Linked DNA regions of Homo sapiens: region 2 is linked to region 1. Evidence: promoter capture Hi-C in human tissues and cell types (Jung and others, 2019). All regions are on one chromosome and are shown on one strand. Each heading gives the region's core, a stretch centred on a gene start or on the middle of the fragment in contact. The rest is flanking DNA. Distances are from core to core; before and after follow the strand shown.

What was found. Contacts are between HindIII fragments. The study calls those that stand out against the background at their distance.
Region 2: a fragment that was not itself captured here is called in contact with the fragment with the promoter of NACC2 in region 1 in 1 of the 25 tissues and cell types used here (dorsolateral prefrontal cortex).

Annotation. Positions count from the first base shown.
Region 1 is chr9:136,092,052-136,097,591 of GRCh38, forward strand. NACC2 (NACC family member 2) reads right to left here and starts at 3,238. Exons shown (of 6, transcript NM_144653.5): 1 at 3,138-3,238. RefSeq lists an enhancer at 1,254-1,945 and silencers at 3,151-3,280, 3,601-3,700. The HindIII fragment of the contact is 19,137 bases long and covers 1-5,540 here.
Region 2 is chr9:135,800,229-135,805,768 of GRCh38, forward strand. No RefSeq gene overlaps it. Among named protein-coding and RNA genes, the nearest start is that of KCNT1, 100 kb to the left of the region's middle. RefSeq lists an enhancer at 3,006-3,672. The HindIII fragment of the contact is 4,082 bases long and covers 1,357-5,438 here.

The DNA of each region.
Region 1 (5,540 bases), core at 1,988-4,487:
CGCCTCAGGGAGGCCGGTGTGGGGGCCACACACAGCTCTGAACTGGGGCCCAGTGGGGAGACAAGAGTAGAGAAACGCTGGCCAAGCTCCCCCACCCAAGGCCCGACTGCCCACCTCTGGGAGGACCAAGGGCGTGCCCAGAGAGGGTGCCAGGAAAGGAACGAAATGCTGGGGAGAGGGCACTTCGGGGAAGGCCCAGGACCCAGGGAGCTGGGTCTGCAGACACTCACCGCCGGGGAGCCTGACCGGAGATGGGGTGAGAGGCCCCAGTGAGCCAGCTCTACACAGGTTCCCAAGACCCCTCATCAGCCCCCAGTGAGACCAGACCCAGTCAGACCTCACAAACTCCCGCACCTGCCCACATGCATCAGACGGCGGCTCAGGTCCAGCGTCCAGACGGGCTAGCGCTACTTCTCTCCTGCCTTGGAGGGCGCTCCACGGCCTCACACCACAGGGCTTTGCTTCTCCTTCGAGCCACGCCTGGAAGCCCAGCCCCAGGTTTCCTCAGCCCAGGCCAGAAATGTCACCCTGAAGTGGAAGGTGGCCTACCTTGTCCTCAGAACCACAATGGGAGGCTGGTCAGCCTGGGCCACTGAGGCAGGGACATGTGCTACCAAGGTGAAGGTGGACTGGGCCGGAGGAGCAGCAGAGTCAGGGGGCCCCATAGTCAAGTTCCCAAATGTGTTCGTTACACTGGGGTCTGTAGAAGGCCTTGGTTCTCCGGAGAAACATGCTGGTGTATCCTGGGGTAAGGGGTGCCACCTGCTGCCCCCCTGTGGACTCCGACCCTCATCCCACCGGCCACAGTCCAACTGGATCTCGGAACCCACTGCGTGACCCTGCAAAGGGGATGGAGTGACCCCAAGGGGCTGTGAGATGCAGAGAGGCAGCCTGGGGACAGTGTGTGGAGGTGGCTAGAACAGGGCTGGCTGAGGAAGGAACATGGGCTCTGCCCCACTGACGGTGGCTGGGGCCACTGGGCACTCGGTGCCCTGTGCGTTCCAGGGACACAGGTCAGAGGCACAGACCTCAGAGGAAGGGGCACAAGGTGGAACCTTGGGAACTCAACATCCCGAAAAGGACAACACCTTGGTTCCCCATTCCATCCCTCGGGCCTGGGAGACCACACTGCCCACAAACCAGGAAAGCAGGACTCCGGAGGCAGAGGCCAAGAGGAGTGCAGGCCTGGAAGAACCGCTCAGCACCAAGATCGTCACTGTTGTTTCATGAATAATGCAGCCTCATGCTTTAATTGGAAAACAAAGGGAGGATTGAAGAATTTTTTAAAAGTCACCACTAGCCCCCTGCCCAGGGCAGAGCAGCCCTGCGAACCCTTCCAGCAGCCGGTGGTAAAGAACAGAGCCTGTTCTCGCAGCCTGTAGCAGCCCAGCTCCCACTGCTCCCAGCAGGAGATCTCCCGGGTGGCTCCTCCCCGCCTTCCCGCCAGGCCAGGGCCAGCACCATCGAGCCCTGGGTGTGACCACTGCGAAAGGATCCCTGGCCACTAAGAAGTGACAAGTGATATCTTGTTCCACTCTCTGTGCCCATTCCAAGTGGCTTTGCCGAAAGGACAGGGGGCCACCACCTTGGGTGGCAGCTCCTTTTATTTCCTCCCCTTGGACTCTGGCCCAGCTACCACCCAACAGTGACCCCAGGGGAAAACGCCAAGAGGCCTCTTTAAGGGAGGGGCTGGGAAAGGCCCCACAGAGGACCAGAGGGGTGCTCCAACGGTGGCCGGGAGAAGAAGGGGTGGGTGGCTGAGAGGTGGCGGGTGGGGCGGGGGCTGCCTGAACCCTGACCTAACTCTAGGCGCCCCTGCTGGGGGGTGCTACAGGCTAAAACACCCTGCAGAATGCTGAGCTGAGTGTCCCACTGGAGAACAGGAGGGAAGGAGGTCAGGAGCCTGCCAGACGAAAAGAGGGGTGGGTGAGAAGAAGGGGCGACCTGGAGGGACACGGACTCTGGCAGGAGAGTGCGGCCGCGCTGGCGGGCGGGAACACCAAGGTGCACGCGCTCCCGGAGGCAGCTCCACGGGATGGGAGTCCGGGCTGCCTTGGGCACCCCCGGGTCAGCACCCCCGCCACACACAGGAAGGAACGCGCAGCAGAGAACACAGCTCAGGGCACCCAGCGGCCCAGGGAGACGGGCCCACCAGCACGTGGGTGAAACACCTCCAATCCGGAGGCCCCGCGCGGGGGTTGGGGGAGGGAGTGGAACGGCCTGGGAGGCCAACTCCAGGGACCCGGCCTCGCGGCCTTCAGACCCACAGGTTTAAGCGGCTCCACGACGAGAGTCCAAGACCAAACTTCCCCCAGAGCCTGGCAGAGGGGCTGGGAGGTGACCTCTGACCTCCGACCCCACACGATCCCAGCAAGAGAAGCAGGAAACTCCGTCGGAAGGCCTCGGTCCGCCCTGGCCGTGCGGGGTGCGCGGCGGGCCCCGGGCTCCGCTGAGTTTCTTAGAGAAGGAGCTGGGGCCCCCCGACCTCAGCTCCGCAGAGGCACAGAAGCTGGCAAGAGGCAGAGCCCCCTCCCCCTGCGGCCGGACCCCAGTTTCTCCCCAGGCTGGGGCCCGAGTGGGGGAGGCGCGGGAGGCGGTGACGACCCACGAACGGGCCCACCTGGACCGGGAGGGCGAGGCGCGGGCCCGGCTGGGCCAGGCAGCTGCGCAGATGCGCCGGGAGGGGTGGGTACCTCCGCCCTGGCCCCGGGCCAGTCCTGCCCCGGCTTCCCCACCCGGAGGGCTGGATCGGCCAGTCGGGTCCCTGGGGAGGCCGCGCGGGTCCCCAGAAATCCAGGGAAACCCAGCAGGCGGCGGGGAGCGCCCCGGGACGCCCGGAGCCGGGGTCTCCCCGAACGCGCGGCGCGGCGTCCCGGCCCGGGGTCGCGGGCGCCTCCGCCGGGACCCCCCGGCCCCGCCCGGCCCCCCTCCGCGGGCTCCCGAGGCCGGTTCCCGCGCGCACGCCCGGGCCGGCGCGGAACTCGGCCGCACCCGCCCCGCGCGGCCGGCACTGCGGCAGGGGGCTCGCGCCAAGTTGGGCGGCCGCGGAGTTTGCGGGAAGTGCGGGCCCGGCCCGTGGGACGACCCCGCCCGGCGGCGTAACCCGGGGGCGGCCGCGCGCGCCAAGTTGGCGGTACCTGCGGGCGCCCGGCCCGGTCCGGCCTGGGCAGCTGCGGCGCGCCGCCCGCGGCAGGAAGTGCTTGGCGTCCCGGCGCTCCGGCTCCCATGGACTTTCTCCGACCTCGCCCAGCACCGGCGGCCGCACCGCGGCGGGGGCGGGGCGGCGGCGGGGGAGGTGCCCGCGGGCCGTTAAAGGGACAGCGCGCCGGCCGCGCGCGCGCGCGCACTGGCAGCCAGGTGGGCTCCCGGGGTCGGGGCTGGGGTCCGGGGGCCGGGAGGGTCCCCAGTGGGGGCCGGCGGGGCGTGGGGAACCCCGAGCGCTGGGGAGGGGAGGCGGCAGCTCCTCGCCCCTCGCGCGTCCTCCTTCCGGAGCTGCCGGCGGTCGACCCTGCGCGGGACACCCGGCGGGAGCCGGACGCCGCGGCGCAGAGGACGGAGCTCGGCGGCCGGGTCGGGAAAGGACCTGGAGCGCCGCCCTCCGCCCTCCCCGGGCCCCGGCCTCGGCCGGACTCGCTAAGCCCGGGAGAGCCCCCGGGCCCCCCTACCCCGCCCCCGGCGCGCGCCCTGCCCGCGGCAGTCGCGTCCGCACGGTGCAGCCTCCGGGATCCGGGCGGGGGAAGTGCGCGCATCCGCAGCCGCCCTGGACGCTCAGGCGGGCCGTGAAAGACGAGGATACGGGAGCGCCCTTGGGCGAACGTCTGCGGGGCTCCGGCGCCCGTCCCTGCGGCCCGGGAACTGCAAGCTGCCTGGACTGGGCCTGGCGCTGCCTTCAGGCCTGGTGTGATCCGGGCGCACTGGGGCGTTGACAGTCATTCCGGCACCGGCCACGCAGCTCTCCATCTGCCCAAGGCCACGCTCCTGAGGACAGAGGTGCAGTTTTAAAACAAGGGCACGGAAATAAAACGGCCACACACCCGGAAAGACCCAGAGACCCCTCCTCAGCTGCCCCCTAACCTGGGGCCTGAGGTCAGGACAGGCTGCAGTGGTCCTCAGAGGCTAAGCCAGCCTCACTCCCACAGCACGCTCAAGGGTCCTTGCAGGAGAATGGAGTGATACCGCCTCAGTGGTCCCGAGCGAGGGCGCTGGGAGAAGGGTTGAGAAGGAGATGGCCACCAGCATCCCAGAGAACGCCTTTGGGGCTCTGGGGATCAGAAACCTGGGGCTACAGCCCTTCTGGCACAGTCAGCCAAGGTCATTCCCTGGACAAATCATCAGAAGCTTGGCCAGGTTCTTGTCACCCCAACCTCAAGCTAGGCCCTTGATCTTGGCCACAGACTGGCCCTTGACCCCAACTTTAGGTTCTATTCAGCTCTGCGTCCAGAACACACACACACACACACACACACACTTCACTCCCTGGCTTGCCTTGTATGGGGGTGAGTATGGAACCCCGCAGGGACTCTGGGCTCTCCCCACAGAGTCCCATCTAGACCTAAATGCAGTCCCAGGTCCCACACCCCAACCCCCCTCCCCCCACCACTGCCACTTCCAAACCCGCCCCGCAGTCTACTGTGGGAAGGAGGTGGGGTAGGAGGGTTCTGAGTGCCTCCTACACCCAGGGCATGAGCTCAGCAGCCTCAGGGTTCTGGTGCTTCCTAGGCCTGACTTTACAATCTCTGCAGGATCTCTCAGTGAGCATAGCTACCCCAAGCCCCTGAGAATCGTGAATCCCAGAGACAGATGCCTGGAGCTGCTTCCAGCCCTGGGGCAGGCCTCAAGGGGCTACCCACTAGGACCCGTGGCCCTCCAGGGATGGGAATGATTGTTTTAATCACTTTTATTTTCTAAATATTAAAGACATTCTTCCTTAGTGAAGGATATTTGGAAAGCATTGAAAAGTGTTTAGAAGATAGCGGATAAGCAGAAATCAATTCCCCAATTTCTGTGTGCCTATACGTATGTACACCAACATATATTTGCACCTTTTAAAGCAAACCCTGCATCCCTACTGAATTCCAGGCCCGTGCTACTGAGTATGTACACCTTACCGCATTTAACGTTCACAACAGTACCATGAGGTGAGCTCTGTTTATTCCTTTTTTTTTTTTTTTTTTTGAGTCCGAGTCTCACACTGTTGCCCAGGCTGGGGTGCAGTGGCGCGATCTCAGCTCACTGTAACCTCTGCCTCCCGGGTTCAAGCGATTCTCCTGCCTCAGCCTCCCGAGTAGCTGGCATTATCGGCACGTGCCACCACGCCCAGCTAATTTTTGTATTTTTAGTAGAGACGGGGTTTCACCATGTTAGGCAGGCTGGTCTTGAACTCCTGACCTCAGGTGATCCACCTGCCTCAACCTCCCGAAGTGCTGGGATCACAGGTGTGAGCCACTGCGCCCAGCCTTATTCCCGTTTTACAGCTTAGCCTGGGGCTCACTCAGGGGTCCCCAGCAGGGCCTGGGCTGAGTGGGGCTCACCCCGGGTGC
Region 2 (5,540 bases), core at 2,148-4,647, 290 kb before region 1:
ATCCCTGGCGACCTCTGTCATGGGCTGAACGGTGTCCCCCAAACCCACAGGTGGACATCCTATCCCTGGTGACCTCTGTTATGGGCTGAACGGTGTCCCCCAAACCCACAGGTGGATGTCCATTCCCTGAGGACGTCAGAATGTGATTGTCTTTGGAGACAGGGCCTTTAAAGAGGTAATTAAGTTAAAAAGAGGTCACCGGGATGGGCCCTAATCCAATCTGACTGGTGTCCTTACAAGAAAAGGAAATTAGGCCAGGTATGGTGGCTCACGCCTGTATATCCCAGCACTTTCGGAGGCCGAGGCGGGCAGATCACAAGATCAGGAGATGGAGACCATCCTGGCTAACACAGTGAAACCCCGTCTCTACTAAAAATACAAAATATTAGCCGGGCGTGGTGGCAGGCGCCTGTAGTCCCAGCTCCTCGGGAGGCTGAGGCAGGAGAATGGTGTGAACCCAGGAGGCGGAGCTTGAAGTGAGCCGAGATCACGCCACTGCACTCCAACCTGGGCGAAAGAGCGAGACTCCCTCTCAAAAAAAAAAAAAAGTAGTATTAGACCTCTACAAGAAAAATTATCAAATGTTTTGCAAGCTTTAAGAGTTAAATAATGAAGCCACACCAAGTTCATGGATCAATACTATAAAGATGTCAAATCTCTCTGACCTCAAGACAATCCCAAACCAAATCTCAATTACTGGGGGTTGGGGAGGGGAGGGGAGGGGAGGGGAGGGGAGGGGAGGGGAGGCTGGGTAGAACCTAACATGCAAAGGGCCAAAAATATCCAAAACGCTCTTAGCGGAAGCAGCTGGTTTACCAGAGAGCGAGTCTCATTATCAAGCGACAGGAATCAGGATCCTGCCTGTGTATTGCACAAATAGACAACTAGACTGGATTCGCTTCCTGTTGCTGCTGTAACAAACTTAGTGACTTCAACCACCACAAACTTATTAACAGCTCCATAGACCAGAAGTCGGACAAACACCTGAGTTGAGATCAAGGTCATCAGCAGAGCTCCCAGCTTTCTGGAGACTCTCCAGAGAATCTAGAAGCCTTTCCAGCTTCTAGAGGGCATCTGCATTCCTTGGCTCACGGCCCCTCCCTCCATCTGCAAAACCAGCAGTCTGCAGCTCTGTGCTCTCTTCCGTCGGCCCGGTCTTGCTCTGTCCTCTGCACCCATCCCACACTTGAGACACCCTTGTGATGACATGGGGCTCCCCTAACAGTCTATGCTGATCTCCCATCTCAAGATCATCTGATTCGCAACCCGAATTCCATCTTCAACCTTGATTCCCCTTCACTGTGTTAACAAAACACCCAGAGATCAGAATATGGACATCTCTGAGGGTGTAGGGTGGGCACTGCTCTGCTCACCAGAGACCAACGGACTGGAAGTACTGAAACAAAACCACAGCAAAGCTGGCACTGCCAAACAGCAGAGGAAGTATGGCGTGTCCAAGAAGTGGCTCTGGGACCATTAGAGATTCTCATAGAAAAAAAAATGATACGGACTTCCACCTCATTCACAAGCCGTAAGAGCCAAGTCCAGGTGCGTTATAGGCTGAAATACAAACGTCAAAGGTTTACAAGGTAGTTTCCATGGCAGGGCAAGAGTTTTTTATTTTTTTGTTGGTTTTTTGTTTTGTTTTGAGATGGAGTCTTAATCTGTCACCGAGGATGGAGTGCAGTGGCACTGTGTCAGCTCACTGCAACCTCCGTCTCCTGGGTTCAAGCAATTCTCCTGCCTCAGCCTCCTGAGTAGCTGGGATTACAGGCGCCCACCACCACGCCCAGCTAGTTTTTATATTTTTAGTAGAGATGGGGGTTTCACCATGTTAGCCAGGCTGGTCTCAAACTCCTGACCTCAGGTGATCCACCCGCCTCGGCCTCCCAAAGTGCTGGGATTACAGGCGTGAGCCACCACGCCCGGCTTAGATTTCTGAAACGCTAATAACATTGACAATCTGGCCACAAAATCTTAAAAACTTCTGTGTATCCACAAACAAAAAAAATTGAAAAGTCACAGAATGGAAGATATTTATACCTTCTGTATATTGTCTTTCAAAAATGTATCTTCTATAAATTAGGAAAAGATGACTCAGGAGAAAAACAGGCAAAAAGCTTCTACAGACACTTCACAGGAGGAAACTCCGTGACCAAAAAAAGATGTAAATAGGCTCCACTTCTGTTGCCATCAAGAAACTGCCAATCGGCTGGGCGCGGTGGCTCACACCTGTAATCCCAGCACTTTGGGAGGCCGAGGTGGGTGGATCACGAGGTCAGGAGTTCAAGACCAGCCAGGCCAACATAGTGAAATGCTGTCTCTACTAAAAATACAAAAATTAGCCGGGCATGGTGGCGTGCACCTGTAATCCCAGCAACTCAGGAGGCTGAGGCAGGAGAAGCACTTGAACCCGGGAGGTGGAGGTTGCAGTGAGCCGAGATCGTGCCACTGCACTCCAGCCTGGGTGACAGAGTGAGACTGTCTTAAAAAAAAAAATGCCAATCGAAGGCACTGGGCAGCGTGTGGTGTGTCTCAAATGCCAACGCCACACAGAGGAGCCCCAGCTTGGCACGTCTGCTGCTCACAAAAGGAGAGGCGCCCTGTCCTCTTGATCACTCAAAGAAGTTCTATGAATCAACAGGAAAAAAGCCCACCCAATTAACACAACCTCATTAAAAGTGGGCCAGGGAAGTGAACGGAAATCTCCCAGAAGCAGCAGCGTGTTAGGCCCATCCCCATTTGAAAACACAAGTCAACCTCCCTAGTGCCCGGGAAAGGAACAGAGAAAGCAGTGACAACCCACATCACACCCACCAGTCCAGGAAAAGTCCAATCCTGGGGCCCTGAGAATCCCACACGGGCCCAGCACATCCCAGCCCCCGGCCCGTGCTCCCAGGACACAGGCCTGGGGCTGGAGACAGGCTTAGCAGCGCAGTGGCGGTGCCGGGAGGGGCCTGGGACAGGGCAAGCTCTGGGCAGATACTCCCCCACCTGCTGAGACCCGAGCACGTCCAGGCTTGCTCCATAAGCCATGCGGGGAGGACCCCGAGTCATCCTCAGGCCGTCGACTCCACCCCAGCTGGGCAGACAGCTCCTCTCCTCCTGCCACTTTCTCAAATAGCCGCCCCACCCCCGTGAGCTCCACTGAGGCCCAGACATACACCCCCATCAGTGCCGTACACACTTCAACATCTTTGAAAGCAGACCATCTTAACATCAACAGCGTGGCATAGTTTGATGGGCAGCATTTCTTGGTGGCACAAAATGATGATGTATCTTAAAATGAAGGACACCTTAGATTCCGTGAAATACCAAGTTGTCAGTGGATGCTGCTATCCTCATCTGCCTGTGCACTGGCCGGCCTGTAAGCTCCAGGCGGGCAGGGCTGGTAAGCACTGGCGCAAGGTGCACCTGCTTACGCGGTGACTCCGGTGTGGGGTGCAGGGTGTGGAGGTGGGCGTAGTGTCCGGAGATACCAACAGCCATGTGCTGTGGGGAAGGGGCAGGGCAGGGTGGGCAGTTTTCTGTTCTGTTCTCTCCTGTGCATTTCTGAACTCTTTGCACAGCTGATACTTTCAAGGAAAGCATATATATATAGCAAGGGCTGTGTATGCAATCAATTCACTTCCAGTGCAGGGCAAGGAAATTAACTCCAAAGGAGAGACTGCAGCCCAGAGCTTCCTGCAGGGCACCCACCTGGATATGTTCCGGGAAGAGGGGCACCGGCCCCCACCACAGCCCCAGCCAGGCTTGTGGGAAACCCTCCTCACCCCTTGCCTCGCACTTCAGAATGAGGCCTTTCCTTTGTACCCTAATCCTCCGAGGCTGAAATGCTACTTCTGTGGGGCTTCTAAAACAAGATCTACATTACCAGTTTTTATTTGAAAGCACAGAAGACAGGCCTGCAGCTTCTCCATAAATGGAGGAAACCCCATTTGCTTCTGAATTCTCAGACAAAAAAGAAGATTCAGACCAGGCTTGGTGGCTCACACCTGTAATCCCAGCACTTTGGGAGGCCGAGGTGGGCGTATCACCTGAGGTCAGGAGTTTGAGACCTGCCTGGCCAACATGGTGAAAACCCTGTCTCTACCAAAAATGCAAAAATTAGTCAGGCGTGGTGGCGTGTGCCTGTAATCCCAGCTACTAGGGAGGCTGAGGCAGGAGAATCACTTGAACCTGGGAGGCAGAGGTTGTAGTGAGCTGAGATCGCACCACTGCACTCCAGCCTAGGCGACAGAGTGACAGTCCATCTCAAAAAGAAAAAAAAAAAGCAGATTCATCTTCAAAACAATAAACGGACCCTCCACCACCCACTTTCCAGCTGGGTCCACACCTCGCCCAAGTGCTCTGCAGGGAGGGTGTGGCCGGTGCTGTCTCTAACAGACAGAGTGTGGGGAGGTGACCCTCAGCCTAACCACCAATCGTCTGCTGTCGCCCCCCTCCCAGCACCAGGTCGAAGTCTGCACACTCACAAGACTGCTCCACCCACAACAGGCTCCCGGGGGATGAGGTGCCAAACACAAGAGTGTGTTCACAGGCGGTGTTCGTGACACGGCTGCTCTACAGGAACTGCCAGCCTGGCACGCCATGGGCTCTGCCCTGTGTACCTGCCCGCCACCCTCAGAACAGTCCTCGCGATGTGGTTACCATTGGGCTTGACCCCTGTTCCTCGCTCAACACGGCTCCCATGCCTGCCACGGGCCCCCCAGCCCTCCCAAGCCTCCTCCTGAAGAAGTTAGTGGGAGGCTGACTGGAATAGCCCTCTCCAGTGTGCCCAGCCCAGGGCTGGGACTCTTAACCACAAGGCTCAGGGTGCCACCGCCTCACCCCATGTCTGGCCTGGTGTGTGTACCAGGGCCCTCCAGAGAGCGCTCCCGAGCCACTTGCAGCCCACAGGCCCTCGCTGCGCCTGGAAGGCAGGGTTCAGGCCGGGAGCCCCATGGTCTCCACCATTCAGACACAGCCTTTGCACCAAATGACTTGAAGTTTTACAGCTTAGTTTAAAAACCCGATTTGTAGCTAAAATAGTCACACATTTTTAAGTGGTGATCTCATTTCTTTTCTTTCCCTAACAGATAGGCCCACAGTTCTTATAAGGCTAATTTTGTCTGACTACTCCGTGGCTACCATTCCTTCCTGAAAAGCGCTGCCCCTTCCCTTGAGAACATGGTGGCACTCTTACAGCAAGGAGGCTTCCAGGCACAGACGCTCCACCAAGACCCGGGCCCAGGGCAGCATCTTCACCACGCACTGACTGTCCCGTGTGCCGGCCACTGGCACTCACCCAGCACCCACAGGGAAGATGGCCTGGCCTCTGCCCACTGGCCCACCGCTGCTCTCTGACCCGCACTGCAGAGCTCAGGGTGGTCGCACCCTCCCCTTCCCCTTCCACCGCCACCGCCACCACATCACCACATCCTGTGGGCCGCAGGGGACGCTGAGGTACATAACACAGGCTTCCTCTATTGAAGGAGCAAGGGCGGTGTCGCTGACCTCACCCCAACAGGAGGCTTCACCAGCATTTACCTACACCGCCT